Linked DNA regions of Homo sapiens: all the other regions are linked to region 4. The links are contacts of gene promoters, found by promoter capture Hi-C in blood cells and fetal thymus (Javierre and others, 2016). All regions are on one chromosome and are shown on one strand. Each heading gives the region's core, a stretch centred on a gene start or on the middle of the fragment in contact. The rest is flanking DNA. Distances are from core to core; before and after follow the strand shown. Region 1 overlaps PGM3 (phosphoglucomutase 3). Region 2 has its middle 5.8 kb from the start of CEP162. Region 3 overlaps RIPPLY2-CYB5R4 (RIPPLY2-CYB5R4 readthrough). Region 4 holds the start of TTK (TTK protein kinase). Region 5 holds the start of UBE3D (ubiquitin protein ligase E3D). Region 6 overlaps RWDD2A (RWD domain containing 2A). Region 7 overlaps RIPPLY2 (ripply transcriptional repressor 2).

Region 1 (4,312 bases), core at 1,747-4,246, 3.2 Mb after region 4:
TGACATCAGCTGGCACATACTGACCTGTTTTTAGCCCCCTGCTGCCCTCATTCACTTTACCTGTCCAAATCCTGCAGGAATCTGACTTTGTAATTCCTGCTTTCTAGAGAATGGAAAGGTAACTAAAACTAGTATAAATGCCAGAACGAGGTACAAAATGAGGTACAAAAAAGTTGGAAAACTTCTCGATAATGAGAAAGTATAGGCAAACAGACTTCCAGTTTTGTCCATGAACCCTGGTAACTCTCCGAGCAAGTAGTGTGGTGCCAAGGGTGGTCACCTGGTGGACACCGGGGAAATAATTAGAAACAGAATCTCCCACCACCCCAGAAAACCTCTCCAAAAAAAAAAGAAGGGTAAGAAACAGTTTTATTACTGAATAAGTATTAAGCCAAACTGATGTTCAATCACAGGCTAATTTGCTAAGAGATAGCAAAGATAAACGCTCACCCTTTAATATAGCCAAGCGGACACATTCCAATACAATTTGCTAAGATAAAAGATGGCTAATGACAAAAATTCTCTCCTTGACCAAACTTTAGTTAGGTTTAGGTGGGCCTGACTAGGCCTTGTCCTTAGGCATGTCTTCCAATAGCCCGATTTTAATAAGAGTCATGCTAAGTGAGCTTAGCGAGAATCCCTCATCCTGATACATGACCACTCTTGACATCTGATCTGAGTTCTCATTCTCTACCATCCCCCAGGTAATATGTGACCGCCCTGGCCTACCTTCAGCAAAAGTCCTGTTAGATCAGTTTAGCCAAAATACCACCCACTTACCCTCATGTTTCCTCTCAGTAATTTTTCATCCACTGACCACCCCCCACACACCCTGCTCCTTGGCTATAAAGCCCTACTTTTCCTTACTATATTTGGAGTTGAGCCCAATCTTTCTCCTACCACTGCAAAACTCCATCACATTAGTCCCTGTACCTATCACAACAGTCCTGAATCAAGTCTGCCTTACCATTTTAACAAGTGTCATGAATTATTTTTTCTTTAACACTAGTCCTCAAATAGGAAAACTTGAAACCACCATTTGTCACACACATAGTTTATCCTAAACTTACTTGGTAATAGGGATGGCCACCTGTGTTAACTGCCCTTCTCTAAAGGAGTAATAAAACTTTTCATACCTCTGTGACAGGTAGATAGTTACAAATTGGACGCAAACACCTAAGTTAAACTCTCCTGAGACTGGGAGATAGGTGAGCTATCTTCCTTGATGTTTATATTTGAAATTGGTGACTCTAGGCCCTTAAAGAAAAGTATTCCTGAGCTATAAAACTGGCTTATTAGGCCTTTAGAAAGACTTACATTCATTACAAAGGCACAGAGAAAGAATTCCAAGTTTTCTAAAGGAAAACTCCAAGAAAAGGAAGGAAAGAAGTTTTCCTTTATTCATCAAGGACAACTAAATTTTTTCTTATTTATTTCTCTTTACCTTTACATGAACAGCAGCTCAGCTTCATGCACTACAACATAATCACTTTTATGAGGGCAGTATCTTTCTCACAGAAACATGATCTTAATTAAGAAACTACCAGAAAACAAAAATGGTTCAATACCTTCATAACTTCTTCAAGATACCGTGTTGAACTTCCATTTGCATATGCAGTTTGTACAACACCAATATTCAAACTTTCTCCAATCTAGACAAAAACAATGATACTTAACTTGCCATCAAAAGTATGGTCTACAAAAACAAATATAATGAGAGTTCTAAAGGCTACCAAAATTATCAGCCAGTTCAGTTGTGCCTTAGTTTATGCCAAAAATGTCTGACTGAAAATTTACATGTATGCCAGGAAAAAAGCCTAAAATACATTTGAACACTATTTAAAACAATTCTATGAGAATTCCTCTTTTAAGAAGCCTGTATCTCCTGATCTTCACCTCTTTAATTTTTTAAATAAAAGTATCTGGCCAGGCACGGTGGCTCACGCCTGTAATCCCAGCACTCTGGGAGGCCAAGGTGGGTGGATCACCTGAGGTCAAAAGTTCGAGACCAGCCTGGCCAACATGGTGAAACCCCATCTCTACTAAAAGTACAAAAATTAGCCAGGTGTGGTGGCATGCATCTGTAATCCCAGCTACTTGGGAGGCTGAGGCAGAAGAATTGCTTGAGCCCAGGGAGGCAGAGGTTGCAATGAGCCGAGATCACGCCCCTGCACTCCAGCCTGGGCAACAGAGCAACACTGTCTCAAAAAAAAAAAAAAAAAAAATCTATTAAATTCTTAAAGTATGCTGTTTCCAGATTATAATAATTTCCAATTACATTGTGTACTTAAAGCTAGCCTGAGATTTATTTCTAAAATAGCAAAATGAAACAAATCTCACATTACTAAGCTTATCATAATCAGTTAATATATCAGATGATGAGATTTCCTATTAGAATTTAGGGCTTTTATGGAGTGACCACAGAACTGTCATCAAAGTTTCAATTATGATGGAAGCAAAACTTCCTAAAGCTTCAAATCACAAAACTCAGCCAGTATAAGGAGGAAAAGAGTACCTTCAGGTTCCAAAGCCAATGCCTCAAATGTTCAAATGACTGGGTATTACCACTGCTCTTTTTTTAATTTTCTGCCCACTAATGTAAAGAATTTGTCATAAATTGTGCCCTTCTGACAAATGATTGTAAAATATGGAACTATTTCACTACTAAGTCTTGTTTTAGAGGGTAGCCAATCCCCCCACCATACCTCCACCAGGAGCTCTTTAAGGAAACTGCTAATTAACGTTGCTATCTTGTCTCCATCTATGAGATGAAAGTGGCCATCTGCATCATGGTAGTAATAAACAATTCTGTCTGCATCTCCATCAAAAGAACAGCATCTTTCATTGGACTTAATTTCCATTCCTAGCACACAGGATAATTTAACATGCATTTCAGTCTAAGAATTTATTATAAAGAGTTTTAGAATTTTCTCTTAAAATTATCCACCTAAAAATCAATGTCTTAATCTTAAATAGTGTATAATCTTTAAATAGTACATAGTTTATTAGTGGTTTTTACAGGTCAAATTCTTTCACTGCAAAGTGAAAAAAGGAGCATTCAAAATCTATGCTGATATTTGCTATAATACTACCATAAAATTCCACTTTATAAGCAGGTTGGTTTGGCTAGACAGGTGTCCCATAAAGGTTTTTTGAAAGCTACATGTATTTCTGAATGTAATTTACCTAGGACCGTGATCTCCTTTACATAGAAAAAATAATCAGCACTAGATGATGTATGTGCTTTAATTCTAACAGAAATGATTTTTATTTGTTCATACCACCAATAAAAAGAAACACTGATAATTAAGAGCAAAGAATTATAACTTTGAGAGATAACTGGCCTGTGAAATTTACATAAAGTTGCTGAAATCTCAGCAATTGTCACATCAAATTTATTAGAAAATTTGGCTATTCCTTAGCCATGACAGCAGCAGAGTGACAAATTCAACATGAGACAACTAAGAAGTAAAAGGCTTTTGTCAGGAATGGGATCATAAGATTGATGAAAGGACATGATGCAAGCTTCAGGAAAGCAAGGACTATGGTTTTGTTCATACTGTAGTCCCAAAGCCTAGAGCATAGAGAGTAAGAGCTCAGTATTTAAGAAATGGATAAATAAGTGGCAGAACTGAACTGTCAAGTAAATGTCAAAACAAGCAATTCAATGAAAAGGAGCTCAAATTGGTTGACTACACTGACATTTTAAATGCTTACTAAGTAAAGCATAATAACATGAATGAATGAGGCAACTGGATGAAGTCTGTAGAGTTCCAGAATGCATGTCCTATTTTAGGGGAGCAGCATCTATCTGACTGTAGTGGACTAATGCCATGTGTGAACATTTTCTGATTTTGGTAAAGAGATGCTAGAGATTCCAATATATAAGAGAAGTCACGGAATTTTTAAACAGTGGCACACAGACAAACACACAAATGCAGCCAGCCAAACAAAACATATCTGCAAGTCAGGTTTGGCCTAAGCAAATAATTTAGGGTCTATAATGCAGATAAATCCAGAACACCTCTTACTACAACTAAAATCTGAAGAAAAGTCTTCCTCCTATTCTGCACTGAGTGGAAAACACTGATTGCTAACAACTGTATAAGCAGAGTTACATTTGCTTTCCATAGTGTATTTAATTCAGATAAGGTATCTAATAATACTTACTATGCTCCCCTGTAGATCTGTGATTCTCAAAAAGGGATCCCCAGACAAGCACTGGGAACAAAGCCTGCAAACTTGATAGAAATGCAAATTTCTATCATATGCAAATCCTATGCCAGACCTCCAGAAACTCAGAAGTGGAGCC
Region 2 (3,915 bases), core at 1,321-3,820, 4.2 Mb after region 4:
GAAATGCAAATTAGAACCACAATGAACTATCAACTGGGTGAGTGTAGATATGAAGAGGTAGCATAGGAAATCTTTGTAGTGATGGAATTGTTCTGTATCCTGATACAGTAGCAGTTATAACAAGCTACATGTTGATAAGATTGCATACAAATGCACACACACACCACACATATACAAGTGAGTGCATATAAAATTGGTGAAATCTAAATGACGCCTGTCCCATTTTCCCCAACTTTCTGTCAATCCGTTACTAGATAGAATAAGATCATAGGTTATATATATATGTTTCAGAATCCTTTCTTCTAGGAAAATCTTGTGAGAAGCACAATGTATAAAACAAAGCAGAGTTGCAATGGTTGGGAGGCAGGTGAAGGATGGTTTTGAGCTCTCTTTCTATGCTTTTTTATTGGTCTTGAAGGGACCTCCCTTGAGCTCCAGAGTGCTGTCTAAAACTGATATTTTAGATTATAATTCCGTAACCCAGATAATCACAAAATTTCTACATCTATTAATATATAATCAATGTAATACATACATGAATTCCCCAGCAAGTTAGAGAAATAAGTATAAATATGTGTTTTACGCATATATACAAAATTGTGATTTTTAGCACATCTAAAATATGGATTAAGCTCATCTGATTATTGACAAATTATTAGACTGGGTCTATGTGATAATGTTAGTCTAAAATTAAGTTTTTTTGTATTCACATACCTTAGATGATGGGGAGGTGATTGGATATAAGAAGAAAATATTAGAATTTATTTTCAATTTATTTTTATCTCAAACTTAATAAATTAAAGTTTGACTAATATTGCGGACTAATTGCTATAAATATATTAATTTATAAATAAATATTCATAAAGTGAGTGTGTTTGCCTCCAAATAGTTTTACTGACAGGGCTATATGGAACATTACTGATTTACTGAATGGAACTCTTAGAACACAGAATTACTTTATTAAAATATGTCGATAAGGTAGAAATTTGAAGTTGTGCTTATTATTTCTTAAGCTAAATGTTTTGGATTACAAATATCACTATTTTGTTGTATTAAGAAACCTAATGAAGAAAATGATTATAATATCTTTTAGCCAGAAACAAGTATTTTTCCAGTCACAATCTGTAGTCTTAAGCATAAATAGGCCATATAGAGTCATTTTCTAACCGATGGTCCTTTATTAGTTCCAATTTTGATGGTTGATACTCTACTTTTCTGTGTGCTCCATTGGACTGTCTTATATGTCACATTCACATGTTCATGGCCTCGTCTTTTACTCTTGTCACTGCTGCTGGGACCAGTTTCGCTCAGGCTTGACTAGCTTCACAGATTAAGTCAAAAGTGTGCCTGCCTTAAGCCTGCATGTGAACCTCTTGCTTTCCACTCCCTGGGGTTTCTCTGATACTTGAGGGAACCCATTCAGCACTCAAAGCTTGCACATCGGAAGTGTAAGGGACTTAACTTCTGTGGGCTAACCCTTGACCAGTGTGGGGAGGAACCGATGAATAAATGCCTTCTGCTTTTCACCCTAGGGTAGACAGTATTGATACACATTTCATAAGACTTTTCAGAATGTCTGCTGTGATTTGGAACCAGTTGTTCACAGCAATGGTTTGATGATACATTCTTGTATTGGCTCGCTCGCTCTCTCTCTCTCTCTCTCTCTCTCTCTCTCTCTCTCTCTCTCCCCCGTCACTGTCCTTATTCATCACTTCTACTACTTGACAACTCATTTCCAAATACATTACTTTCATTCAAGTCTATGTTTAATGTTATCCTTTCAGGGGAACCCTGGGAAAGACAGATAGTATTAGAGTTATCCCTAGAAAGCAGACCATTAGGATAGGATTTGGGAACTGAAGAACTCATCAGTAAGATGGCAATGAAGACCCCATTGCTGAAAGAGATGGAGTGGTGATAACCAGTGGAATGCAATTGCTAAGATTCTCACATGAGATTGGTTAGGCAGAGGTACAGGTGGAATGTGAGGGGTTATTCATATAGTATGATGGCAAAGGTAATTATTAATATTGTAGAATGACTGGATTTTACTAATTGCTTTGGATGCCTTGAAATAAAGACAATTAATGGCTCAGGTCAGCCACAATCAATGTGCATTATAAAAGTCAAGGGCTTATATCAGCATTTGAGGAAATCATCCTTTCCTGCAGCTGCAGTAGAGTAGGTGGTGAAAGTCATGCCCAAGATCAAATTGTAAGAGTGGCACAGTTGCAAAGGGAATTGAAGCCACAACCTTTCTGGGTCTTCTGAGTCAGGGTTCTGATAGCAAATAGTGGAACACTGAACTTGGAATATGGACATTTGGGTGGATAAGTCTGGGAGTCTTGAACTCTCAGATTTCCCTGAACCCTCAATAATGGCAGAAGCACTCCCATTCTCCTTACTAGAGCAGAACATCCTCTTCCTGCCTAGAGACCTTGAAAAGACCTAAAGACCCTTATGTGAGGGAGGAAACTCACAAGATGATGCTTGTCCTCCTCAAGATCTGTCTGGTCACCATTCATTGTCCCCCTGCTAGTAGCTTGGGTCAGGTCTCAAAACACCTGAGCTGGGAAATATAGTTCTTTCTCCAGGAAGAAATGGTTTATAGGAATTGCAGGTCCTAGATTATATGTACTAAAAGAAACCAGGGAAATACATGTAGGGGTGAATTTTGAGAGTGTTGACTGGTGGGGGAAATAAAATAAGGCTGAACAGGGAAGATTTTATTGACATGAGAGCACTCACTCCTGAATTGGGGCTCAATTTCCTAGTAAGGACATCTGGAGCTGGTCTTAATATTCTTCTGGGAAGTTTCCTTGAAGTCTGCATGTGATGATGGCAAATAGGAAAATGAGACAGAAATGCTGAAATTGCTTTGGCTGGTATTAAGGAAGATTTGAGAAGGCTCATGAAGATAGGAATGTTAGTGTGGATTCTTTATATGATCTCTAGCATCTGTCACCTGACTTTGTTCCCTGAGAGGATCCAGAGGATATACCCTTCAATAAGACAGAAAACAATTGGCTGGTGAGGGGAACATCAGAATCTGAAAAACCTGGTGATGTCTATCCTCCCCATGTCAGGGTTAGTAACAGGAGATGCTGCTTGAAACTAGTCTCCCTAGTATCAGTGAAGGTATGGGATTTCTCAGTGAAAAGTATATGTGGTGATACTAAACTGTCAGAGGCAAGATGGTTGCAATTACTGAAATTGACAGAAGTCTATAGTAGCAGTCTGGCTGTCTTGACCTGCAGGAATCTGTGGCAATGGCTAATAAATTGCAGTTTGAGGGATGAGGTACATGGATAGCTGACTGGGCAATTTGTGTGTGTGTGTGTGTGTGTGTGTGTGTATGCAACAACAACAACCAAAATATCTTCATGTGATGTGCTCCATCAGAATATAAGAAGAATATGAGCATCAGCTATCACAATGGAAAATCTAGGTCCTTCATCCAGCTTCTAGATTTATGTAATTTTGTAGACCTAGATCTCATTGGTTAAAAGGCAGGGCGAGTGCCCTTAAGGAAAGACCCTGCATTGTCACATGAATAATTATAAACATTCTCCCTATCTTTCCACAAAGGGACCTATGACCATTTACTAGGGTAACACTGCACTGAGGAAATAATTATAGTTAGTTTTTTGAAGACTGTTGAATAGGGAGTATGAGCTGACCCTAATGCTAACTGCTTTAGAGAGCCAGAAAAGCTTCCATGGGTCTCTAGTTAGAGTGGGGGTGTTTGGAGGCTAGATGAAAACTGGAAATAAGAATAGTTAGACTTTTCAAGGATTGTTGGATAAAAGGTATGAGCTAATACTGATGCCAGGGAACCTGAAATGCTATCATGGCCTTCCAGTTAGCATGAGGGCATATGAGGAAAGGTAAAAGAGTCCTAGCCCAAGTATGTCT
Region 3 (3,891 bases), core at 1,251-3,750, 3.9 Mb after region 4:
TTCTTTCTCAGACCTTTTTTTTTTTTCCCCCTAAGGCTAATCCCTTTATGTGTTCTTACCAGTCCTTTCCAGCCTTTTTTATCATGTTGGGCCATTGGTCGTCCTTTATTGTCTGACATCTTCAATTCTTGCCTTTCATTCTTCCAGCAGCTTCTTTCCTTCAGTCTCTTCATCTTTGAAAACCTGACTCTGACCCTCCCTGATCGCTTCTTCCCCAAGGCTTTCTTCCTCTGTACCTGGTATGTAGGACTTCTGTTAGAACATCTGTTTCGTTTTCTTGGCCACTTTTTATATTTTTGTCTTTATTCTTTATTTTTTTATTTTTATTTTTTTTTTTAGATAGAGTCTCACTCTGTCGCCAGGCTGGAGTGCAGTGGCGCGATCTTGGCTCACTGCAACCTCCGCCTCCCAGGTTCAAACAATTCTCCTGCCTCAGCCTCCTGAGTAGCTGGGATAACAGGTGTGCACCACCAAGCCCAGCTAATTTTTGTATTTTTAGTAGAGATGGGGTTTCACCATGTTGGCCAGGCTGGTCTCAAACTCTTGATCTTGTGATCTGCCTGCCTCAGCCTCCCAAAGTGCTGGGATTATAGGCGTGAGCCACTGTGCCCGGCCGTCTTTATTCTTAAGTTTCAGGATATTAATGTACCACTTTTCTCCCTATATCCCTTGCATCTGGCAGAGGGCATAGCTCATGGTTAATATTCAGTAAATGTTCTTTGAGGCATGTGTAGATTTTGATATGTGCAAAACTTTTTATTTTTTAATTAAAATTTTAATGTTTTTTTAGATACTGAGTCTCACTATGCTGCCTAGGCTGGACCCAAACTCCTGGGCTTAAGCGGTCCTCCTATATCAGCCTCCTGAGTAGCTAGGACTACAGGATGTGCAGGACTTTTAAACCACATTATGGTAGTGTTACAGGACCACCACCACTTACCCAAAGGTAGCCATTGGGTCAGGATTTCTGCACTGTGGTCCCTTCTGTGGTTACAGGAAAGTGTTCCCGATCCAGACCCCAAGAGAGGGTCCTTGGGTCTTGTGCAAGAAAGAATTCAGGACAAGTCCACAGTGCAAAGTAAAAGCAAGTTTATTAAGAAAGTAAAGTAGTGAAAGTACAGCTACTCCATAGGACAGAGTAGGGTGTTCCTGAGAGTAAGAGGAGGAACGCATCCACCCTAGGTACAATGCTTGTATACATGTGGAGATGTGCTCTGCTACAAGGGTTTGTGATAAAGGATTAATTTTCTTAATTACTACATTTTGCAAGAATCAATATTATTATCTTTGAAGAAAAATTAGGAATGCCTTTGTTCTCCAGATATCAGGATATCTGGATACTCCCAAGTCTGGGTCTGTTTAGTGGATACTATTAATTTGTTCCCTTAACCACAAACATCTAGAGGCTAGGTATGTCTGACTTTCTCGGAATTTAGCCTGGCAGGTCCCAGCCTCTTTTTCCTAGCCCTCTCTCAAAATGGAGTCGCTCTGGTTCGAACGCCTCTGACAGTAGGGATATTCTAATGTTATCACAAGATAGAACCCAGCTGAGGGACTTCCATGTTTCGTGTTTCCATATTGTTGGCTCCTGGAGTTGGGAAATATACTAGTTCCTTAATAAGAAACTTCGTTATTTCTGGACAGTTCTCTAATATAGATTCATGGTCTATCAATTCAAATGTGAGCAACAGCCTGATAGGTTTCATATGGTTTCTCTCCTTTGTATAGTTTTGTATTTTCTTTTGTAGACTTTGCACACTGTGGGGATTGGGTAAATATTGAAGATTTCTTAAGGGTCATTTTTGTCATTAAATACTTTTTAATGAAGTATTTTATTTTGAAAAAAGTTTCAGACTTACAAAAAAGTTGCAAGTGTGATGCAGTGAATTCCATAAATTCTTCAACTGCCTGGATTCATCCATTGTTGACATAGTTATCATTATATTTTAATGAAACCATTTTTTCTCCACTATTATTTTTTATACTTCTTTGCTTTTTTTTTTTTAGCAGCTGCTCTAAGGGTTTATGATATACATTTCTAATGTATCAGTCTACTTTCAAATAATATACTATTTCACATATAGTATAATAACCTTTTAATAATATACTTCCATTTTCCTTTTCTGTGCCTTATGCTGTTGTTGTTATTCATTTTACTTCTATATAAGCTGAAAACCCCACAATATGTTACTATTTTTGCTTTATACAGTTACTTATCTTTCAAAGAGATAAAGATAATTAAAAAATTATATTTTATGTTTACCCACATTTTACCATTTTCTGTGATTGTTATTCCTTTTTGTTGATCCAGATTTCTGCTGAAGAACTTCCTTTAACTTTTTTTTTTCAGACAGAGTCTTGCTCTGTCACCAGGCTGGAGTGCAGTGGCACGATCTTGGCTCACTACAACCTTCGCCTCCCAGGCTCAAGGGATTCTCCTGCCTCAGCCTCCCCAGTCTGGGAGTACAGGCGTGTGCTACCACACCTGGCTAATTTTTTATATTTTTAGTAGAGATGGGTTTCACCACATTAGCCAGGATGGTTTCGATCTCCTGACCTTGTGATCCACCCGCCTCGGCCTCCCAAAGTGCTGGGATTACAGGCATGAGCAACCGCACCCAGCCCTTTTAACATTTTTTTATAGTGCAGGTCTGTTGGCTATGAATTCCCTCACTTTTTTTCTGAAATGTCTTTATTTTGCCTTCATTTTAAAGATATATTGTCATTGAGCATACATTTCTAGATTGACAGTGTTCTTTTTTCCGTCAGTTTAAATATGTCACCCTATCGTCTAGTTTGCATAGATGAGAACTCTACCATCATTCTTTTTTTCCCATAGTATGTGTCTTAGTTCATTTTATGTTGCTATAAAGGAATGCCTGAGGCTGGGTAATTTATAAAGACAAAAGGTTTATTTGACTCGTGATTCTTGATGGCTTGAAAGTTTAAAATTGGGCATCTGCATCTGGTGAGGGTCTCAAGGAGGAAGATGAAAGGGAGCTAGCGTGTACAAAGATTACATGGTGAGAGAGGGGGAAGGGCAGGAGTGGGTGGGTGGGGGAGGATGTGCCAGGCTCCTTTTGACAATCGGCTTTCACAGAAACTAATAGAGTAAGAACTCACCCACAAAAGAGGGCATTAATGTTTTCAAGAGAGATCTACCCCGATGAACCAGACACCTCCCATTAGGCCTCACCTCCAACACTGGGGATCAAATTTCAACATGAAGTTTGGAGGGGACAAATGTCTAAATCATAGCAGCGAGTAAGATTTCTTTTTTCTCTGACTGCCTTTAAGACTTTCTTTTAGGTTTTTAGCAGTTTGACTATGATATGGTTTTCCCTGTATTTTTCCTGCTTGGGGTTCTCCAAATTAATTTTGGGAAATTTTCAGCCATTATCTCTTCAAATATTTCTTTTGCATCTTCCTCTGGGATTCCAGTTACAAACATGTTAGCCTATATTGTCCCAGGGCTCTTAGATGCAGCATTGTATTATCTCACTCTTTCCTCTTTTGTTTATGTTTGAATAATTTTTATTGCTCTTTCTTTAAGTTTGCAGAGTCTTTCCTCTATTTCCAGTCTGCCAATAAGCCCATTAAAGAAATTCTTCATTCTAATATCATGTCTTTCAATTTGCTATTTCCTTTAGACTTTGTTTTATGGTTCCCATCTCTCTGCTGGAAATTTCTCATCTGTTAGATGTCATCCACATTTTCCACTAGATTAAAAAAAAATCAATCATAGGTATTTTGACATGTCTAATAGTTCCAATACATTCTGGTTGTGTTGCTGTTTTCTCTTTTGACAATGAGTTGTTGTATCTTTTAAAAAAGATGTGTTTTGTAAATTTTTTTTTTTTGAGACAGAGTCCTGCTCTGTCACCCAGGCTG
Region 4 (3,823 bases), core at 1,148-3,647:
TTCATTAACTAAACCTCAGACTTTATTTGAATTTTACTAATTTTTCAATTAATGTCATCCTCCTGTTTCAGGATCCAGTTTATGATATCACAGTGCATTTAGTTGTCATGTCTTCTTAGTCTCCTCTGTGATGGGGTGGTATTAATTTTAATAATATATTTTATTTAACTCAATATAGCAAAAATATCATTTTAACCTGTAATTGATATTTTTAAAATTATCAATGTTTATTACTTTTTCTTATTCAGTCTTCAAAATCCAGAGTGTATTTTATACTTAACAGTACATCACATTTCATACTCAGACACTTTCACTGGAAATACTTCATCTGCATTTGGTTCTCACAAAATTTACAGTTGAAAAAGTAGGTTCATATACTTACATTGTTCCAAGTATACTTAAAAGTCTTCCAATAAATTCATGACTAATGCAAGTTTAGAAAAAAGAAAGCAAAAAAAATTACTTTAAATAGTTTAAAAATAATCCCATTAGATATCAGTTTTCAAATTTAAATATAAATTTAATTAATCAATTAAGGTTAATTGATTTAAAAATTCAGTTCCCAGTTGCACTAGACATACTCAAGTGCTCAATAGTCACAGACCATCACAAGGACTTTTGATTTTATTCCGAGCTAGAAAGGGAGCACTGAAGGGTTTTGAGCAAAGTAGTGACATAATCTGATTTAAGATGACTTTGCTATGTCAGAGAATAAATTGAGGTGAGGCAAGGGCAGAAGCAGGGAGACCAGCCAGGAGGCTACTGCAGGTAACATCAGTTAAGTGATGCAGATGCCTTGGACTGAAGTGGTGGCAGTGGAGGTGGGGAGAACTGGTAGGAGTCCAGGAATCTCTTGTGCCAGCCCTGACTCAATCTGCTTATGAGTTAGATAAGGGATCAGGGATGACACAAAGGTTTTGGGGCTAAAAAATTTAAGACAATGAATTTGTCTTTTATAGATTTTGTAAAAAAAACAGGTTTGGGTAGGAAGATCAGGGGCTTGGTTTTGGACATTTTGAGTTCAAGATGCGTATGAGACATGTAAGTGAAGATGTTAATAAGTAGGCAGTGGATATCTGAGTATGGAGTTGAGGAGAGCTCAGCTAATGATACACATTTGGGAGCCATCAACATATAGATGGTATTTAAAAATAGAAGACTGAAGGAGACCACCAAACGAGAGTACAGAAAGAAGTGTTAGGGTGAGGTCATCCAGCAACAGTATTTTAAGGAAAATGCAAGCTTTGTGATCAGGCCGCAAACAGATCAACGAGAATTGGAGGAATAATAAACTCTTTCCAGGCAGAAGCATTAGATGCAATGGTGCAAAGGTAAGTGATTAGCCAACCATGGTATAGCAAGTCATTTTGCTCTGCTGAAGCAGAAATACTAGCTAGCTGACACAGAAAGATGCATTAAGTGATTGAGAAGGGCTCTCACGCTAGCTGGGTGGCTATCCAGAGCTGGGAATGTGAGGGTTCTAAGGATAGCTTTGGAGTTAACAAGTGACAGCTGCAGTTAGTTTCCTATACATACACAAAACCAACCCGTCCTACCACAGAATATATGTCATAATGCTGGCACAACAGACACATCCCTTTTAGTTTTGCAGACGAGGAGTAACCGTTGCCCTGGACCACAAAGCCACTTAGCGGCAGAGCCTCGCACCCGCGAAGATTATTACTAGGGAGATGTTTTTACCCCTGAGGACACCTGAGCCCTTAAGTGGGGCAGGCTTCGAGGGAGGGGGGCCGATAAGGCGACTTCAGACAGGGCAATCACGATGGGCGCTTGAGTTCTGCGCAGAATTTTGACAAGGGGGAGGGTCTTGGCTTGAAGACAGAGCGTGGAGTCATTTAAGGATAATGGAAGGGCATAAGCAGAAGCTCAAGGATAAAAAGCACTGAAATTCTTGAGCTGGCGGCAGGGCTGAACGTAGCTCAGTGAAAGATCCTTTCTTGCCACATCCTCTCTAAGCCAGGCTGTGAGAACCGCGGGAAACGAAGGAGAAGGGTGGCGGTGGGGTCAGTAAAGGGCCGGCCCAAGGTGCATCTTTTAGGTCCTGATGCTAGGAGCAGCCGTCCCTGCCCCTATATTCCTCTCACTGGGTAGGTTTGCTCGGGAGTGGCTACCTCCCAGGCAAAAATTCGGCCTGGTTAAACTGGAAAGACCAGGAAAGCCCGCCCACGGGCGTCCGGGGAACGCCTGCAAAGTGCCAGCACCCTACCAACCCAGGCGCCGCACGGGTGGGGTCGCGGCCGCAGGCTCTTCCGGGGCGGGCCTAGCCTGACGCAGGAGGAGGGGCGGCCCCCGTCGCACAAGAACCAATCACGACTGTCGCTTCTACGTGGCTAGCATTGACCAATAGGAGACCGTAGTGATAGCGACGGGGAAATTCAAACGTGTTTGCGGAAAGGAGTTTGGGTTCCATCTTTTCATTTCCCCAGCGCAGCTTTCTGTAGGTAAGTTCTGTCTTACCGGTGCACCGGCGCACTGAGGAACAGCCGCAGCCGGTGTAGGGGCTCATTGTTAGCGCTGGTCGGTGAGGGGTGGGGCGAGGTGGGGGCAGCTCGGAGCCAGGTATGCGACGCGGCTAAACGAGCTGGAGGGGGAGGGGATGTCTCACTGCCTCAGCGGGTCTGGCCGGTGGGGTGATGCAGGAGGTTTTGTTGAGGAAGTAAGAAGTGGGTGTGGCCCACGCTGGAAAGAAGGGGTGGTGGGGTACCTGCGCACAAGATCGTTTTCCAAAGGACAGTCTCTCTTGTTTTGGGGGTTAGAACTGGGAAAGAAGCGGGTGGCCGTGATCTGACAGTTATCTTTCAAACCTGACTTAAGAGGTGGAGTGATACCTTGCTGCAACTTTATGACTTTTTTTCATTGTTAAACCTGAAGACGGGGCAGCATTGTTATCAGTGACACTGAGTTGGTGTTTGAGAGTCACAAAGATACGATTAACAATAAGACTGCAGACACTTTATTGAACAAACACCACCACCATGCAGATAAGCAAGTGCTCAGTACCAGTACAATAGTTTCTTAGTGTTAGATTAAGGTAGCAAATCGTGATTCTGCTAGATATGCACAAGAATAAATCTGCGGATTTCCTAATTATCAGTAAAGCCCCATCATGTTTATATTCTGCTTTGAAAGCACTTGCACTGGAAGATTTACTCAAGTAAAGCAGGCGAATAAAGGAATTGTTATTCCCATTGCCAAACGAATTCTTTATGTCTATGTCACTACCAGAATCCAAGCAATCTTTATGTGTATGTCGCTACCAAAATCCAAGCAAACACTCTATCATATTTTTTTTAAGTGACACTAAATTTGCAGATTTCTACAGTGTGACGTCATTGATGTTATATTGGGGGAAAAAGTATACTTGGCCTATGAAACCTTGGTGAATAAATTACAAAGATGTGTACCTTGTTGTTGTGCACTTACCTCCATTAATACTAGCCTAATAATAGCTGCATTTAGATGTGTTCACAAAACGAATGCTTTAGTCGTCTGGGTTCTAAAAAGCTAGTGCATTTTTTTCTTTGATGCTAGTTAAAGTAGGAGTTATGACTGTTCAGTTTTTTTCTTAGAAATGGAATCCGAGGATTTAAGTGGCAGAGAATTGACAATTGATTCCATAATGAACAAAGTGAGAGACATTAAAAATAAGTTTAAAAATGAAGACCTTACTGATGAACTAAGCTTGAATAAAATTTCTGCTGATACTACAGGTGAGTTTTTCTTTTCTTTTAAGTTAGTAACTGTTTGTTGGGTATCCTCTAAGGTAAAGATATAGTACTAATCACTTTATTTATAATTTACT
Region 5 (4,122 bases), core at 908-3,407, 3.1 Mb after region 4:
ACTATTTTACACACACTAGAATGGTTCAAACTAAAAGGACTGATAATACTAAATGTAAGTCAAAATGTAAAGTAGTTGAAACTCATTTTTTTTCTGGTTGAACGTGCAAACTGGTACAATCACTTTGGAGAACTGTTTGGCAATTTCTCACAAAGTAACATGCACATCTATCCTATGACCCAGAAATTTCACTCTTAGGTACTTACCTAAAAAGAAATGAAAATGTATGTCCAAAAAAAGATTTATACAACAGTGTTATGACAGCTGTATTCATAATAAGCAAACTCCAGAAACAAGAAAAACATCCAGCAATAGGAGAACAGATAAATGAATTGTGGTATATTCATACAATGGAAAACTTAGCAAGAAAAAGGAATGGACTACTGATATATGCAGCCACATAGATGGAACGTGAATCTGAAAAATATTATGGAAGGAATGCAGCCAGAAACAAAAAAGTATATATTGTATGAATCCATTTATAAGTAGTTCAAGAAATGGCAAAACTAAGTCCAGCAAAGTTAGGTTTCTTTTTTTTTCTTTTTATTTTTTATTTTTTGAGACGGAGTCTCTTTCTGTTGCCAGGCTGAACTGCAGTGGCGCGATCTCAGCTCACTGCAACCTCCGCCTCCCGGGTTCACTCCATTCTCCTGCCTCAGCCTCCTGAGTAGCTGGGACTGACTAAAGGTGCGCGCCACCACACCCAGCTAATTTTTGTATTTTTAGTAGAGACAGGGTTTCACCATGTTGGCCAGGATGGTCTTGATCTCTTGACCTCGTGATCCGCCCGCCTCAGCCTCCCAATGTGCTGGGATTACAGGCATGAGCCACCCGGGTACCTTGCCTAAACAAAGGAGAGTAGTCCAAGGGAACTGTGAAAGGCCCCTGCATGAGAGGAAGGGAGGGTTTGTTGTGTGTGTGTGGTTTTTGTTTTATTTTGGTAGGGTTTGGGTTCCTAATTACTCTACAAGGTGCACCAGAATTGGAGATATTTGTCCAAATTCATAAATTTTGAAAGAGAAAAAGAAATACATTCAGAGTACTATTATTCCCATTTCAAGATTGAAGAAATTCAGATTAAATTATTCTAATTTCGTGAGGAAGCTAGCATTTGAACTCAGTTCTCACGCCATATTCCAAATTGCCACACCAGATATCTGGCAGATTTAGGGAAGAGGAAAAAATTAAGCATCAATCTACCTGTGGCACCGTGTAATACCATTCTCAGGATTTTAACTTCTAACTTACTCTCTTTGAAACAGCGATCACAAAGGAATAGACAAGGGGACCACAAATCATTAAAACTGCTGTCAAACAAAATAGAGAACATTTTTCCTAAAAGTTATTTGTGTAGCGAATAACAAGTTTGACGTTCTCACTGGAAGGAAGAATATGAATAAATGAACGAGCTCCAGTAAGAAGTCTACAACCTGTCTTAGTGGTTCACTAAACTCACGTTTATTGAATGATTGTGTGGTTTCTCTGCAAAGAGCAGTTTTGGACGAAAAGACCCGAGGTTATTTACAAAACAAGAAGCTCACATAGGAACTGATCCAGTAAGGAGGATCCCGAAGAGAGACAGACAAATCATTTTTTGCATTGTTTTGTTGGAAACGCCGGGCACTGCCAACAGTGTTTTACATCACTGTTCCTCAAATTTTAATGTGCATTTGATTCCTGGAAATCTTGTTAAAATATAAGTTTTGATTCCATAAGTCTGGTGTGGAGCTGAGACCCTGAATTTCTAAAAAGCTCCCCAAAGATACCCACACTGTCAGTAGGGGTGGGAGTGGCGGAGCCGACTACAGGGGAAAGCTTCACTTTGAGTGATCGAGAGGCTCTACGCAACTGGAAAGAAGAAACTCAAAATCCCTCGTACAGAGAGAGACTCACCAGCCCCCGACCCCCGGGCAGCAGTAAAGCGAGCTGGGCACTGCGCCTAGAATCCCAGTTCTTACCCCAGGATCAGAAGCGCGCTCTGCAGCTGTCCCCGCACCTCCAGAAACACGCGCGTCTCCGCCGCAGAAGCCGCCATGGCAGGCTTCCAGTCCCAGACCGGACCAAGCTGGAGGTTCCGAGGGGCCCGGGTCAACAGGACCAGGAGAGGTTCCACGTGCGGACCAACCAGCGGCAGCCCCGCTGCGGCGCAGGCGCCTGTGCCAGATCGCAGGGCTGGCGCCGCCTACCAGCTCACAGCGCCACCTGCCGGCCGGAGAGTGCACCACCGAGAAGGCGCGTGACCCCGGAGGCCGGGGCGGGGCGCGCATTTTCAAAACCAGGCTTTGGCCCAGAGTGCTGAGAAAGGTGGGCGGCGAGAGGCTAGCTATCGCCCCACTCTGCTTCTTATGAGCGTGACTTGGCGCGTTAGCATCCCTGGAAATGACCATAAAAATCAGACCCAGGGTTCACACCTTTGGCTAGCTCGAAGGGAGGGAGATGATGGAGGCAAGTGTTACAGGTGGGCTTTGTCCCCAGGAGATGCAAGAACAGAATTCCCGGCCCCAAACCCACTTTATCTTGGTCTCTTTATGAACAAGGGTCGTTTGTTAGCCTCTATCTAAAGCGACAAAATTTTCAAGAATTGACTTGCCATTGCTTCTCAACTTAGACAGGATAGCTCCAAAATTGAAACAGGTGCAAAAATATAAGGAAGTTCTTTGTTACCTAATGCAGAAGAGTGTGGCTGAAGTCTATCAGGACTAACCATTTTTTAGGGGGTAAAAAAGGAAGATGAGAATGATTACGTATGTACAGCTCCACTATTCACTTTCACAAAAGTAAAAACTAAGAGAAGTTGGAGAAGTTTACTACCAGAAGATAGTTTTGAAAAGTTTGACACAGTAAAGAACCTGGTATAATGTAAATACTTATAATGAAGAACTATTAAAATATAAGACCGGGTAGAATTACAATAGGGCTTCTTAAAAACAAGGAGCTGCTTTTATTTATTTATTTTTTTTCGGAGTCTCGCTCTGTCGCCAAGGCTGGAGTGCAGTGGCGCGATCTCGGCTCACTGCAACCTCTGCCTCCTGGGTTCAAGCGATTCTCCTGCTTCAGCCTCCCGAGTAGCTGGGATTACAGGCGCACGCGCCACCATGCCCGGCTAATTTTTCTGTTTTTGGTAGATCCGCCCACCTTGGCCTCCCAAAGTGCTGAGATTACAGGTGTGAGCCACCATGCCCAGCCTAAACCATAAATAAATTCTAAATAAATAAATCCTGTCATATATTTTAAGATAATAGCTTGACAATTTTTCTAAAATCAGTATTTGGGGTGATTAAAGTTTATTATGTTGATGCACAAATTATTATATCTATCACAATAATTTGAAGTTATAGATGGAAGCAACAACTCACTTAAAAAAATAAAGTTTACTATTATTTGGTCTCAAATAATTCATCTATTTGAAGGATGATGATTTCAACTCTTCATATCTTCCACCTTTAGTACCCGAGGCTATTGAATGCTTAAATATTGACACATTATATTGAAATATACAACTTCCGTAGCACAACTTACTCTTTATAATTGTTTTGTTAGCTTAAAAGATTTTTATATATTTAGTTACGTATTTGTAAAAACTTTCATTTTTTTACGGTATGGTGTTGGCAAAACGGTGCAATTTACCTTGGAGTAACTAGATATGATTGATAGAGCTCTAGACTCAAAATAGTTCCAAATCTGACACCAACTACTTGTCTCCTAACTTCACAAGTCTCCTAACCTCTCTGGGATGCAGGTTACTCATATGAAATATTGAGAAACTATTCAAATAATATTTAAAAGCTGTTTTCAGTTCCTATTATCTCTTCAAATGAAAACATCTGCTAACCCCCTTTCTAGCCACTCCTGAAATTGGTAGCCATGGCCGCTTCCCGCGACAGTCCACTTGAGGGCGCTGTGGCAACAGCTAGCGCCGGGAGGCAGGAAGCCGATCGGGGGCGGGGATCGAAGGCCTCAGACGTCGACGCCGGCGTGGGCGCGAGCACGGTGCACTCTGGGAGCTGTCACTAGGCCCTTCGGCTCCCGGTCTCGGTGTAGCTGCCGTGGTTGCCAGGAGAGCTGCGCCGGCGAGAAGCGGCCGAGCCAGCAGCAGGTAAAAGCGTCCCTGCCCCCAGTGCG
Region 6 (4,055 bases), core at 160-2,659, 3.2 Mb after region 4:
ATTATTTGTTTAATGTGTGTCTCCTTCACTAGGCCCTGGACTTCATGAAGGGCAAAAATAGTGTCTGGTTTATTCACTTTTTTATCCCAGCACAAGGGCACCTGGCACACGTAGTTGTTCAATAAATATTGAAATAATGCATAAAAGGAAGCAATCATGTATGTAAAGTACCTGGTACATTTAATAGTAGCAATAACATTTCTCAAAATCATGCAGTTGCTATTGATAAACTAGCTTATGTGATGTTATGGTATTTAAATCTATTTGATTTTCATTTTAAGGTGAAAATTGATTTGCAAGTGACCATGCCTCACAGCTACCCCTATGTAGCATTGCAGCTGTTTGGACGGTCATCTGAACTTGACAGACATCAGCAGCTACTTCTCAACAAAGGTCTCACTTCTTACATAGGGACTTTTGATCCAGGTGAGCTCTGTGTATGTGCAGCAATCCAGTGGCTACAGGACAACAGTGCATCTTATTTCCTGAACAGAAAGCTTGTATATGAACCATCTACACAAGCAAAGCCAGTCAAGAACACATTCCTCCGAATGTGGATCTACAGTCACCATATATATCAGCAGGACCTAAGGAAAAAGATTTTGGATGTTGGGAAAAGGTTAGATGTGACTGGATTTTGCATGACAGGAAAGCCTGGTATAATCTGTGTGGAGGGTTTCAAAGAGCACTGTGAGGAGTTCTGGCACACAATTAGGTACCCCAATTGGAAGCACATTTCCTGTAAGCATGCTGAAAGCGTGGAGACAGAAGGAAATGGTGAGGACCTGCGCCTTTTCCATTCTTTTGAAGAGTTACTCCTTGAGGCTCATGGTGACTATGGATTAAGGAATGACTATCACATGAATCTGGGCCAATTCTTAGAATTTCTCAAGAAGCACAAAAGTGAGCATGTTTTTCAGATACTATTTGGTATTGAAAGCAAAAGTTCAGACTCATAAAAAGCGATTAAGAGGCCTATGCCTGTAATTTCACTAAGTCAGTATTTCTGTTAATAAGACCAAATTAAAAAGGCTAGTGGCTGTGTAGCATCCTCAGTGCAAAACCCAGCTCCAGAATTTTCACCTGGTAACGAATTTCAACTGACAGTGAAATGAATAGGCCTTTAAACTTTATAACATTGCAATTGTGATGTTATCTCTAGGTTTTTGTGTGAAGTCATTCAAAAACTATTTCATTGTAAATTAATAAAAACAATCCATTTAACTTGTGAAGCTGATTTGATTGAAGAGGAATCCAAAGCCCATAACTAACATCAAAAATCAAACTGCAATTATGAATTGAGAAATATGAATAGCATTTGTTTCACATTGCTAGCACACATGTGACACACCCACTTGTCTTTCATTATTGGAAATCTAAATCAAGTTTAAAATGAGAACAGGAAGGACATGTTTACTTCCTTTTTTGAGACGGTGCGATCTCGGCTCACTGCATCCTCAGCTTCCCAGGTTCAAGCGATTCTCCTGCCTCAGCCTCCCAAGTAGCTGGGACTACAGGCGTGCGCCACCACGCCCAGCTAATTGTTATATTTTTAGTAGAGACAGGGTTTCATCATGTTGGCTAGGATGGTCTCAATCTCTTAACCTCGTGATCTGCCTGCCTCGGCCTTCCAAAGTGCTGGGATTACAGGTGTGAGCCACCGCGCCCAGCCCGTTTACTTCATTTCTTACTTTAAACTCCTATTTCGAGTGTTTTAGTAAAACTAGATCCTAATAGCAGTGGCAAAGGACTCATAGACATGAAGTCCCACGAGTTAAAAGATGACACACAATGCTATGTGTTCTGGCTGTTTATATCAGTTCATGATACTAGCAATCCTGATACCAGTATTAGTTTAATTCTTATCCAGAAAAGATAAACACATGGTTCCTTGTCTACAAAGTATTCGCCTGTTTCAATCCAACCTTTGCCTGTGTGCCAGTATGCATTACTATAAAGGGCAAGAGACTGTTGAGGGGACCAGTGTGGATATCTGCATCATTACCTTATTGGGAAAAAAAAAATCTAATTCTACAGTCCGATGATGTTACTGCCATCTCCTCTGAAAATTCCAAGCTCCACAGGCTTCACCAGGCTTTTCAAAATGAGAGTTTATTTTAATGATTAAAAACCGCTATTTAAGTAGCTCTTGCCAAGCCTTTTCATTACCAGGTCTCCATCCCTCCCCAAGTATTTCTGCGAGTCTCATGTGCTAAGAGATGTCTTGAGCAGCCTCTGCAGCTTTCCGTGTTTCTGTGGTCAGCTACTGCTGCCCTTTCCCGGGAGGCATTCCATTCTCCTACTGGGTCCTCTCAAGATGCCAAAGCTTGGTGCTGGGATTTAGGAACACATCCTGTTAGATGTCAGACAGTGCTGCTTGTGCTGGGGAGCCTACAGAACTTCTGATGAAACTACCATCTGGTTTTACCCTCTGTGCCGTGGATGCAGACGTGTCCTTGGGCTACAGAGAGGACATGATGGAGCAGGAGGCCCTATCCCAAGGAGGTGTTAGAACTGGGTCCACTTTGTACTGCCTCTTTCTTCTTAGGTCACAATGAGTGTCCTCTCAGGGCACAACTCAGATCTTCAACCCATGGCTCGCTGTAGGCCTGCCCCGCCAGGTCCTCCAGCTTGCCATTCATGTTTCCATCCTAGCCTTGGTTGTGCTGGAACTCAGGCTGGAGCCTGACACTTTGCCTATATGCAAAGGGAAGAAATAGGACTTACATTGCCAAGGAATCACTTCTTAATGTTTGCCAGCACTAAAAACAACAAAGTATAGGAATCTTTTTCCCCCACAGTCTCCACAAAGCTATCAATAAGTATAATTCGCATTTACAAGTTTTAGGCCTTCAACAGATGTAACTCCATCCAAATGAATCAATATGTGCCATCAACCTACCTTATAGAGGTGTTTTTCCTGATTACATGAGCAAAAGTAGCTACAGAAAGATGGGTGTAAAGAAAAGGCAATAAATTCTAGGTTATGAACTCTACTGCTTCTGGAGCTATTTCTGAGATTTTTCAGAACCTACTTTTTTATAAATAAGTCTAATTTGAGCATTCTGCAATACTTTTTTTCCTATCAGGAAAACTAATGCAGATAGTATTATGGGGACGTGTAGGTTTTATAGAAAAAAAAAGTACATGTATAATTCAAAACTCAACTTTGTATGTATAGGAGTCTGCTGGTTGTTTGCACAGCCTGATATGAGCACATAATAAAAGTCCGTCATTCCCCAACCCCCTCCCCCTACACACACAGCTTATTTTGGGAAACTGCCCCTTCCCTGTGTGATTTGGGAAGAGAAAGTGATAGGAATCAAGTTGTCCTCTGGCAGCCTCCTGGAGAGATGGCTGTGAGCTCTTGCTGCTTAAACCTCTAGTGCCACCCTCATTTCTGACCTACTGAATGCTCAGCTGTTTGGCATTTCCTTTGAATGACCCAGCATCTTCCCTTTTGTTGTCGGAAATCAGAATCAGTCTCTATTGCTTGTAACTTAAGAATCTGGATATTCTGTTTATTATATTCTTAAATGGTTATTTGGAAAATGTGCTCATTTATAAAAGTTACAGTGTCTTTTTAAAGTTTGCTGAAGTAAATGAAGCATATCGTCAAGTATGTTCTTTGCTTTTCATTCCTTACTGGTCTATTATGTGTTAGGCTAAGAGCTGAGGACACCTGCATAGTGAATTGAGTAGGCCAGATGAGTTGGCAGACCACAACACAGGGACCTCTAAAACATTCCTTATTAAATCAAACATACATTGCCTGTGAACTTGAGCGTTCACATATAACTCCTTACATGCCATCCATCCCCTCTCAGAACCTGAGAAGGTTCTGATGGTGTCTGTCTGCAGCCTTCATGGAACCCTTTTGAACAGGTTTTTTTCACTTGCTTTTATCTCAAGTAGCCCAGTAGTAAGTCAAAAGAATAGTTATTGTCTGAAGAGGGCACAGTGTTGCTCACACTTCCTGGTTTTATACATAATCCTGATTTGCCACAGAAACTCTGAGCCCATTGGCTTTCCCTCATAAGGTCCACATGGTGGAA
Region 7 (3,058 bases), core at 550-3,049, 3.9 Mb after region 4:
GAGGCTGCTGAGAGCCCTGGGGTTACATTCCCAGCGGGCACGAGGAACACTGGGTCGTGCACGTTTCCACTTTCTAGAAGGAGGTGGGTGATAACTGGATTCACTTCCTTTCCTCTCCAGATGCCCGATGGCCCTGGAATGACCGCAGCCTCAGGAAAGCTTTACCAATTCAGGCACCCAGTCAGGTGAGTGACAGGCCTCGCCGAAGGTCTCCCGCTCCTCCAGCCCCAGGGAGGAGCCAGGGGCATCGCGCAGCCCAGCTCCGCAGCTGGTCCTGCAGTCTCTCTCTCTCTCTCTGAAAATCTGGCTTCAAGGTTACTTATCTTCTCACTCATCAAATTGAAAAAGGTAGGGGCTCACGGTCCCACGTAAAGGGACTGTTGATGAATACATACTCAGTGAACTTGATGAATATATTACGAAGAGGGAAAGGGGATGATATGGTAAGAGAGCGGTGACATCTTGTGCTGGCAAAACAGTTTTTATTTTTAAATCCTAAAGGGTTCGAATGAAATTGACTTCGCATCAGGCAGAGTGTGTATGCTGCTTTTGTCTTGCAATCTGGAAGGAAGAATGGGATTAACAGTTACAGTCTTACAAGTTTGCCGAGTAGGAAAAAATAGAAATGTAATGAAAATCCTAAAGATTATTGAGAATGGTTATAGAAAGGGTCAAAAGTTTATTTAACTTGCGGAGCTAGTTTACTGTTCCTAGTCACAGGAAGTCAGCCTTTATCTAAGATTCTGTGTCACTTTTATTCAGGTGAAATGTTAAGAATTCTGCAGTTTTCCTGCCTCCGAGAGCTGTTAAATGAAGAGCTGGATGATGTTTGTAAAGTGCCCCTGGTCATAAATAACACATAGAAGTCATTACATCTAATTTCCTACCGTGTGCTAGCACTGGTGAAGGACACAGGAAAAAGTAGTCACAGCACATGGCAAGTGTTGTAATGGAATTTAGTTTGGTTAGTTTTACAAGTATGGGCAGGGCACGAAGTGCCTAAATCTGTCAGTGGTAGGGGGAAGGGTCAGGGAAGTGTATATTATAAGTTGTGGTTACCTGGCTGAGTCTTGGAAAAGTTAGTCAGATGAATGGGAAGTGGGAGCAAAAGAAATAGCATTGGAAAAGAGAAGCAGGATCATGAAACGGTGTGGCTCCTTGCGGGAACTCCAAGGAGTTTAGGTGTGTGAAGTTGTGGTCATTTTAGCAGGGTAATCAGAGGCCAAATCTTGCACACTCTTGTACAGAGTTCTGTCCTGATCCTGTATGTAGTGTTGGGAACCCATGGGCTTTATTCCGAAGGTAGTCTTGGGGGTTATATGTTAAATAGGCTTAGTCAGGGCATCAAAAGTAAAACTGGAAGTTCTGCAATTTTTCAGGTAAGAAATAATGATGAACCATTGTAAGACAGTGGAAGTGAGGGTGAGACTGGGTGAATCTAGGAAATACTTGAATGACAAAATAGATTAGGCTTTATAACGTATTGGATATGTTAGGTGAAGAAGAGGTAAAAGGCCAGAATGGCTCCTAAGTTTGTGGCTGGTGAGCAGGTGAATGCTGTACTAAAAGAATGTAAATTAGGGCCGAAAACAGATTTGGGAGGTGAGATCATGAGTCAAGTTTTCCACTTATCATATTTAATGTGCCTATGGGGCATCCAAAGAGTGATATCCTGTAGAGAACTGCGTACGTAAGTTAGGGGCCCAGAGTCAAGATCTTAAGTGGAAATACAGACTTGGGAGTCCATGGTAAATGTAGGGTGGGGAAATCATGACAGTGGGCCAGGTCATCCTAGTTTGTTTAGAGGGAGGGCTGATGTTCTCAATGAAAACCTGAGGGAAGGCCAGCATCTAACCAGTACACAGAGAAAGAGAGGTCCACAAGGAGACGGAGAAGAATCAGAACAGGAAGAAACTCAGAAAAGTATGCGGGCCCTGGGAGAAAAATGGCCCACAGTGAGAAATTCTGGACAGAGTATCATAATGACTAGCATTCTTTGGGTTTGCCAGTTCCAGTTACGCATTAGGAAATAAATTGTTTCTTATATAAGAAATTCCTTTCTTTTCTGAAGTACGGTTACAATTTAATTGTTCTCTTATATTTTATTTTTATTCATTTATATCTTGACTAATATGGTGTGTTTTATTCTTTTTATTCAGCTGTCAACTTTTTGAGGGTAGGGACCATGATTTATTCATCTTTAAATTGTGAATTATGTTGGCACAAGGGATCACTAAAATATTTATTGAACGACTGAATAATTGATAGTTACTTGTTTAAGCATCAAAAATATAAACTTTTTTTATGATTTTTGCTGGAAACATTTATAAACTGCATTGTTTGTTTTTCTGCCTTTTAAAGTGGAGCATACTGAACATAATGTAATCTTCCATTTGTTGGGATGACTCCATTGTATGGATATATGGGCTGTTTACCCTGCACTAAAATGACTGCACTGTACTTGGTGATTCAGCCTTATCTCTCCTCTTTCTTTTCCTTGATGAAGACCAGAAGGCAAGATTAGTATTTGTCAGATTTTTGAAATTCTGAGGTAATAATACTTACATGCCAGTTATTTGTATAAAACATATATAATTTCTCAACATTTCATATGATATTCACAAATTTAGTTGAATGGGGAGAAGACAGGCACATAGAATCAAAGTTGAGGTCAGAAGTAGTCTTTCTATGCCTCAAGTTGTGAGTGCATAGACAAAAATTTTAAAATACTGGTTTTTATACATTTTTAAACTTACGTTGTCTACTTCTATAAGAGTTAAATCTGTGAGTTTTAAATAAGATAATAGGTTATTTCCACCTTTTTGTAAGGTGCATAATATTTTGTCATCTTTATAAAGCTGGCTATCATTAAAGTTTTTAATGTAGTGGTAGAACTCAATTCATTTTTTCCAAAGGAATTTAGAAACTGGAAGACAAATCTTCTATATATTATAAGAATAAATATATCCATAATGTACAAAGTAAGGTAAACATTGATCTTATGCATATCCAGGGTTTAGTGTAAATTTGTTTGATCCAATTTACAGCTTGAATAAAG

The links. Contacts are between HindIII fragments. The CHiCAGO score rates a contact against its expected background, and 5 or more counts as called.
Region 1: a fragment that was not itself captured here is called in contact with the fragment with the promoter of TTK in region 4 in 1 of 17 cell types (monocytes); the score reaches 5.0 in monocytes.
Region 2: a contact is called between a fragment that was not itself captured here and the fragment with the promoter of TTK in region 4, in 1 of 17 cell types (non-activated CD4 T cells). The highest score is 5.8, in non-activated CD4 T cells.
Region 3: a fragment that was not itself captured here is called in contact with the fragment with the promoter of TTK in region 4 in 1 of 17 cell types (monocytes); the score reaches 5.4 in monocytes.
Region 5: the fragment with the promoter of UBE3D here is called in contact with the fragment with the promoter of TTK in region 4 in 9 of 17 cell types (non-activated CD4 T cells, total B cells, naive CD4 T cells and 6 more); the score reaches 17.2 in non-activated CD4 T cells.
Region 6: a contact is called between a fragment that was not itself captured here and the fragment with the promoter of TTK in region 4, in 4 of 17 cell types (total CD4 T cells, fetal thymus, monocytes and 1 more). The highest score is 9.0, in total CD4 T cells.
Region 7: a fragment that was not itself captured here is called in contact with the fragment with the promoter of TTK in region 4 in 2 of 17 cell types (activated CD4 T cells and total CD4 T cells); the score reaches 5.2 in activated CD4 T cells.

What each region holds. Positions count from the first base shown.
Region 1 is chr6:83,177,105-83,181,416 of GRCh38, forward strand. PGM3 (phosphoglucomutase 3) reads right to left here. Exons shown (of 13, transcript NM_015599.3): 7 at 2,706-2,863; 8 at 1,569-1,652. Among named protein-coding and RNA genes, the nearest start is that of PGM3, 14 kb to the right of the region's middle. The HindIII fragment of the contact is 1,054 bases long and covers 2,470-3,523 here.
Region 2 is chr6:84,231,447-84,235,361 of GRCh38, forward strand. No RefSeq gene overlaps it. Among named protein-coding and RNA genes, the nearest start is that of CEP162, 5.8 kb to the left of the region's middle. The HindIII fragment of the contact is 2,281 bases long and covers 1,431-3,711 here.
Region 3 is chr6:83,874,506-83,878,396 of GRCh38, forward strand. The region is part of intron 4 of RIPPLY2-CYB5R4 (RIPPLY2-CYB5R4 readthrough); the gene reads left to right. All of the region lies in intron 2 of CYB5R4 (cytochrome b5 reductase 4), which reads left to right. Among named protein-coding and RNA genes, the nearest start is that of CYB5R4, 17 kb to the left of the region's middle. The HindIII fragment of the contact is 9,219 bases long and covers 1-3,891 here.
Region 4 is chr6:80,002,252-80,006,074 of GRCh38, forward strand. It overlaps TTK (TTK protein kinase), which reads left to right and starts at 2,398. Exons shown (of 22, transcript NM_003318.5): 1 at 2,398-2,462; 2 at 3,591-3,731. The coding sequence starts at 3,593. RefSeq lists enhancers at 1,435-2,309, 1,880-1,999. The HindIII fragment of the contact is 2,460 bases long and covers 1,241-3,700 here.
Region 5 is chr6:83,063,684-83,067,805 of GRCh38, forward strand. UBE3D (ubiquitin protein ligase E3D) reads right to left here and starts at 2,158. Exons shown (of 10, transcript NM_198920.3): 1 at 1,959-2,158. The coding sequence starts at 2,035. It overlaps DOP1A (DOP1 leucine zipper like protein A), which reads left to right and starts at 3,988. Exons shown (of 39, transcript NM_015018.4): 1 at 3,988-4,096. RefSeq lists enhancers at 3,797-3,866, 3,897-4,046. The HindIII fragment of the contact is 10,412 bases long and covers 1,814-4,122 here.
Region 6 is chr6:83,195,314-83,199,368 of GRCh38, forward strand. RWDD2A (RWD domain containing 2A) reads left to right here. Exons shown (of 3, transcript NM_033411.5): 3 at 282-3,622. The coding sequence ends at 959. Among named protein-coding and RNA genes, the nearest start is that of RWDD2A, 4.0 kb to the left of the region's middle. The HindIII fragment of the contact is 1,829 bases long and covers 496-2,324 here.
Region 7 is chr6:83,853,977-83,857,034 of GRCh38, forward strand. It overlaps RIPPLY2 (ripply transcriptional repressor 2), which reads left to right. Exons shown (of 4, transcript NM_001009994.3): 3 at 121-185. It overlaps RIPPLY2-CYB5R4 (RIPPLY2-CYB5R4 readthrough), which reads left to right. Exons shown (of 18, transcript NR_174604.1): 3 at 121-185. Among named protein-coding and RNA genes, the nearest start is that of RIPPLY2-CYB5R4, 2.1 kb to the left of the region's middle. The HindIII fragment of the contact is 3,285 bases long and covers 158-3,058 here.